Linked DNA regions of Homo sapiens: region 1 is linked to region 2. The links are contacts of gene promoters, found by promoter capture Hi-C in human tissues and cell types (Jung and others, 2019). All regions are on one chromosome and are shown on one strand. Each heading gives the region's core, a stretch centred on a gene start or on the middle of the fragment in contact. The rest is flanking DNA. Distances are from core to core; before and after follow the strand shown.

Region 1 (2,700 bases), core at 153-2,652, 160 kb after region 2:
CCCAGGATCAAGGAGACCTGAACTTGGGGCCACATGGCTGGGTCCCCCGACAGAGAACTCAGGGACACAGGGCAGCATCACCAGAGGCCAGGAGCCAGGATATGGTGGGAGCATATCCTGTGGGGACGGGCTCCCCCAAAAACAACATCCTACAGGCTGACTGAGGCTGGGTCAGCTGCAGGCTCCAGGCTGACCTAGGCAGGTATGTGCTGCCAGGCTGCCCCAAGGGCTGGACTAGCGACTGTGCGAGGTGCAGGTCCTGCTCCGTGGGTCCAGACTGTGGGTCCCTGAGCCCCTTTGAAACGGGGTGAGACCACCCTGCCAAGCCTAGGGTGGGGACCACACGTCAGACATACACAGCACACCCAGCAGGGCCAGGGGTGGGGGGTGTAGCTAGGAGGCAGAGCCAGCCCGCCCCGCTGACGGCGTGGGGGTCCCACCCAGCAGGGGTGACCCAGCTGCTGCAGCCCTGCCCTCGCTGGCTGGGGTGTGGCCCACCCCTGCCCCCCTCACCTCCAGGGAGCTCACAGACAAGGTGGCGACATTCTCGTTCTTGGTGCTGGGCCCCGTGCTGGGTCCCGGATGGGCGGCAGGCTCCCCGGGATCCCCCAGGCTGGGGGGTGCCGGCTCCAGATTGGGCGGTGGGGGCAGGGGCTGCTGGGGAGGTGGTGGCGGTGGGGGCGGAGGCGGTGGGGGCTGGGCAGGGGGTGCCTCGGGGGGCCCGCCGCTGGGGGGCTGGCGGGAGGGCGGGCTGCGGGCGGGGAGGCTGGCCTCGGGGGCCGTGCTGAGGTGGATGAGGCGGGTCTGCGGCATCTGGTCAATGTGGATGCTGTACTTGGGCTCCTCCTTGGGCTTGGGCCGCAGCGTGGCCGTGGCCGTGGGCAGGATCACGTAGCTCGTGTCCAGAGCCTTCTCCTGGGCCCGGCTCAGCTCCGAGTCCAGCTTCTTGAAGATGTCCCCGTCACCGACGAAGGAGGACTTGGGCGCCTTGTCCCTCTTGAGGGTCAGTGAGTGGTTGGGGAAGTCGGGCAGGGGCCCGCCGGGATAGCGGGGTGAGCCGTGCAGGTGCAGCTTGGACACGTTGGCCGGCAGGCTGTTGAAATTGGTGGGCGGCCCCTTGGCATGGGCCAGCTTCAGCTTCTCCTCCTCGGGCAGAGACGGCCGCTTCAGTGTGCCCGTGATGGTGGCAGTGCGGCAGGCCGCGATGTCCTTGTTCAGCACTGCAGGGGCCGCGGGGGAGACAGCGGGGACAGGTGTGGGGGTGAGGATGGCGTAGGACAGTCCCCAGCAGGAGAGGGGCCCAGTCTGCCCTGCGAGGCCGCCACCTCCTGGGAGACCCTGGCCAGGTCCTGCTGGGTACCGATCGGAGGGCCAACTGCAGGTACCACCCTACCCAAGCCTGGCGCTACGGCCCCTAGGGTTCCTGTGTCCTCAGATGAGGCTGCCACACAGGGTGGCCCTCTCCACTGGCCCCAAGAAGACAAATGGCTGTCACCCACACACTGCCCTCCCCAGCGCTGAGAAGAGCAGGCGAGGGCGGCCTTGACTCCCGGAAGCACAGGGACACAGGCAGAACGGTCTGTGCTGGTGGCAGAGCCCAGCCGGCCCTCCAACGCTCCCGACGCCCACGGCCCTGGGCCTTGTGTGGGTGGGGGGCAGTGTGCGGGAGCCCAGTGGTGCTGAGTGCAGCCACGAGGCCCTGGCCCTCTGTCACGGCCCTTCCTGCATCGCTGCCCCTGGGGCCTGCAAGCCTCCCTGCTCTGCCCTGAGGGCCGCCTGGTCCCTGGAGAGAGGTCTCCATACCCAGACACCTCTGATTCTGTCTCTGGTCAGTTGCAAGGGGCCCAGCCGCCTTGACCTCTGAGTGGGGCTCCAGTTTGCCCCCGACTTCCTGCCAATGAATCTAGCCCCTACTGGCTGGCGGAGAACCCCAAGCTGACTCTGACCCAGCCGCCTGCCCCTGACAGAGGGGTGCCCACCCTCCACACCCCTCCTTTCTCCAAGCCCCAGTCTCCAAAGATCCAGACCCCAGGGCCCTTCCTGGGAAGCCTGGCCTGCCCCCTGTGTCCTGCCCCATGCAGGCTGGCAGATGGTTACCCACCACGCCAAGCCAGCCCTGGGTGCCTGTGTTCACCAGCTGCTCCCTTCAGCCACCTTGCCAGGCACACGGGCCCCAGGGTCACCAATGCCCCCCAAGCTGCCTAGCCAGGGGTCACTCTCTCTCCCGAACACAGGCTTCCCCGTCCCCCTCAGAGCTCAGCAGGCCATGCTCCCGGCCTGGTCCTCTCCTCCACCCTCTGGACAGCAACACCCTGTGCCCATTTTCAGCCCCGCCCCTTCCCTCGTCCCTACCCAAGAGTGACCCGTCATCCTCCCCGTCAGACCCACATGCCCCACCCAGACAGCCACAGCACTCTCGGGACGCACGTCCCCAAGGCCGCCCCACCCCGCACAGACCCTGGGGCTCCCGACCTCCCACACACCTCACACTTTGCTCCCCACAAGGCAGAACGAGCGCCTGGCACGTGAGGGGTCTATGTGCCTCCCTCGCATGTACCCACCTTGGGGCACAATAAAAGCCAAGCTCCCCCCAGGCCCAGGCCCCTCGCTGGCACCCCGCCCACCCTCCCGCTCTGAGGAAGCTCCCAGGCGCTCAGCACCAGCTGCTCATGGCGCATCCACCAGCTGCATGTGGATCCA
Region 2 (2,700 bases), core at 151-2,650:
GGCGGGTCCCCATCCTTCTCCCCCTGAGCAGTGGCTGGGGCCACATGACTCGAGTGAGCCGCATGGGGAGAAAGCAGGAGGGGTCTCCGGCCACGTAAGAGCTGCCCGCTTCCCCTTCGCCTTCCCCCATGATTGTAAGTGCCCTGAGGCCTCCCCAGAAGCCAGCACCACGCTTCCTGGACAGCCTGTGGAACTGTGAGCCAATTCCACCTCTCTTCTTTATAAATTGCCCAGCCCCCGGACTTCTTTACATTCTGAGTGATTTTTCTTCTCTCCTGGGGGCTCCCCCGTCCTCCCACATCCAAGCACACAACATGAGCGCACAGCGCACCCCCACTCGGCCGCAGCACCCTGACCCCAGGTCGGCCACGCGGCACCCACGGGCCCTGGCATCTCCCGGCCGACGGCTGTGGAAGTGACCCTGGGGCTTGGGTCTGCTCCCACGTGCCCTCCCGCCCACCTCCCAGGTCCACCCACCTCCCAGGTCCTGCCCCCCGACTCCCTCAAAGGAGTTCTCCCTTGGGTCTGGGTTGGGCCTGGCCTAGCTCTGCAGGAGGAGCCGGCCCTCCTCCCGCAGCTTGAACGGTTCTCAGCCCGTGAAGCCCCCGGAGGCCAGGCCGGCGGGAGCCTGCAGCCTGAGGGCTCCCGGGGAAGCGCGGCCGGAGCGGGGCAAGGGCTGGGGAAGGGCCGGGCTCAGGCTGCCCCGCCGCCCTGGTGGAAGCCGCACGAGGCGAGGCTCCCCAGAGGCTTCCAGGCGCCACGGGCCGCCTGAACGCTCCGTTCTCACGGCCTGGTCGGGGCGGTGGCCACGCGGTGCCAGGCAGACGCCGCCCGGCCCTGTCCTCTCGGCCCGTGGCTGTGGAGGGCGAGCCAGGCTCACCCGTTCGCTGGGAGTCCTCTGGATCTCGTTGTCTCGCAGTCAGGTTGGCGTCTGTCCACACCCGCGGTAGGGCCACGACCAGCAGCAAGGCGAGCAGCGCCATCGTCCCCAGCGGTGCCCAGGGAGGGTCAGCGCGCGGCGCCCCCTCCCCGCCCTTCTGGAACCTTCGCAGCCTCCGCGCGCCTCTCCCCGGGTCTGGCCGGTAGGGGGAGCCCCGCCCGCCCCGGGGCGCGCGCCTCCCACCCGCCGGGGCCTGTCGGGGTCTTTGGAGCCTCATCTCAGGGCCTCGCGGCCGCTGGCGGCCCTGAACGCCGGTTCTGAGTCCCGCCTTGTGCTGCTGTTGGAGCGGCCGGCGGCCAGGCAGGAACGGGCGCGGGAGCCCTGGGAAAGGCGCGTGTGGAAACGCAGCCCCTGAGCCCAAGGGCCGTCTCCTTGAGGACCCCACGGCCCACAGAAAGTGGCCGGCGGCCAGGTAGGGGATCTTCTCCGCTGAAGAGCACGGGCTCACCTCTGATAACTCGCCCCTGAATAGCTTTTAGCTCATTATAATACCAAAAAAAAAAAAAAAAACAAAAACCACATCCCTGGGGAGAGATTCCAGATGCTAATGACACACTCCAGCGCACTAGTGTGTGAGGTCACGGTGCCTGCGTGCCCTGAGGACTTCCCAAAACGTGCTTACTAGTAAGGCCCCTGCCTGGGCCGTTCGTGAGTAATCCTGTAAAACTCTCATCAAGAGGGTCTCCCCAGCGTGAGTAGCGACTGACTCATTCTTTTGAGCAGTTCCTCTTTCAAGCTGTACTGTTTTCCTTAACTAAAAGCTCAAATAAGAATTCCTCCTGGCGCCTGTAGTCCCAGCTACTCGGGAGGCTGAGGCAGGAGAATGGCGTGAACCCGGGAGGTGGAGCTTGCAGTGAGCCGAGATCGCGCCACTGCACTCCAGCCTGGGCCACAGAGCGAGACTCTGTCTCAAAAAAATAAAAAAAAAAAGAGAAAGAAAAGAATTCCTCCTAAGTCACTAGCTTTTGGCTCTATCTCCTGAGTGGCAGGTTCTGTCTTGTCTCTCTGAGATCCTGACTCTTTAAATAAAGGTTACTTAACCCTATACCTCTTGCTAGGCATCTCTTGTCTGAATTCCTTCCTCCAAGAAGACTAAGAACTGGAGGATTTCCATGCCTCTCACAGTGACAGTGCTACCCAAACATCAGGGTTGTCATCTAGGCCCCCTGCCCTGCACAGAAAGCCAATCACCAACAGCAGTGCCAGGGAAGAAGGCCTCATTCAAGTGCTACAGCCCAGAGATGGGCGCTCAGTCACAAATCCCTCTCCTCAGCCCACTAAAATTAGAAGTTTCCAGAGCAGGGAAGAAATGTCACCCTGTGTGGGAAAACAGGAATTAGGGAGAGTGAGGAGGCAGCTAGGCAGTCATGACTGGTGAGGGGTCTGGCCTCAAGGACCTACTGAGTTTCAGCGCCTTGATACTGTCTGGGAGGCCCGATGGTTGGTTTCCTGAGAAAGGAGCTCAGATAAGACAAATGTAACTTTCCCAAGTTTTAAGACAGGGTGGGCCAATTTCTATGTTTATTCAAAAGAAACCCTAAATACTAGTTTTACGAGAAATTGGGCCCATGTGAGTAGGCCCCAAAGGGCAATCCACAGGTGGTGTTCTCCACCCTGCTTTCTCCTCTCAACCCTCTGTATAGAGGCCCTCTGTTAACACAGGCAGGAGCAGGAATTTCACACTCTTTTCCTTTCTTTGCTTTCTTCTTTGTCTTTTTTTTTTTTTTACAGTTGTGATATAGTTTGGATCTGTGTCCCCA

What was found. The method cuts DNA at HindIII sites, captures the fragments that hold promoters and counts their contacts. A contact is called where the count stands out against the background at its distance.
Region 1: a contact is called between a fragment that was not itself captured here and the fragment with the promoter of LY6K in region 2, in 1 of the 25 tissues and cell types used here (dorsolateral prefrontal cortex).

What each region holds. Positions count from the first base shown.
Region 1 is chr8:142,540,461-142,543,160 of GRCh38, reverse strand. ADGRB1 (adhesion G protein-coupled receptor B1) reads right to left here. Exons shown (of 31, transcript NM_001702.3): 28 at 514-1,220. Among named protein-coding and RNA genes, the nearest start is that of ARC, 73 kb to the left of the region's middle. The HindIII fragment of the contact is 5,772 bases long and covers 1-2,700 here.
Region 2 is chr8:142,698,811-142,701,510 of GRCh38, reverse strand. LY6K (lymphocyte antigen 6 family member K) reads right to left here and starts at 1,400. Exons shown (of 3, transcript NM_017527.4): 1 at 881-1,400. The coding sequence starts at 983. It overlaps LOC124902032 (a long non-coding RNA gene), which reads left to right and starts at 1,827. Exons shown (of 2, transcript XR_007061133.1): 1 at 1,827-2,700. The HindIII fragment of the contact is 17,981 bases long and covers 1-2,700 here.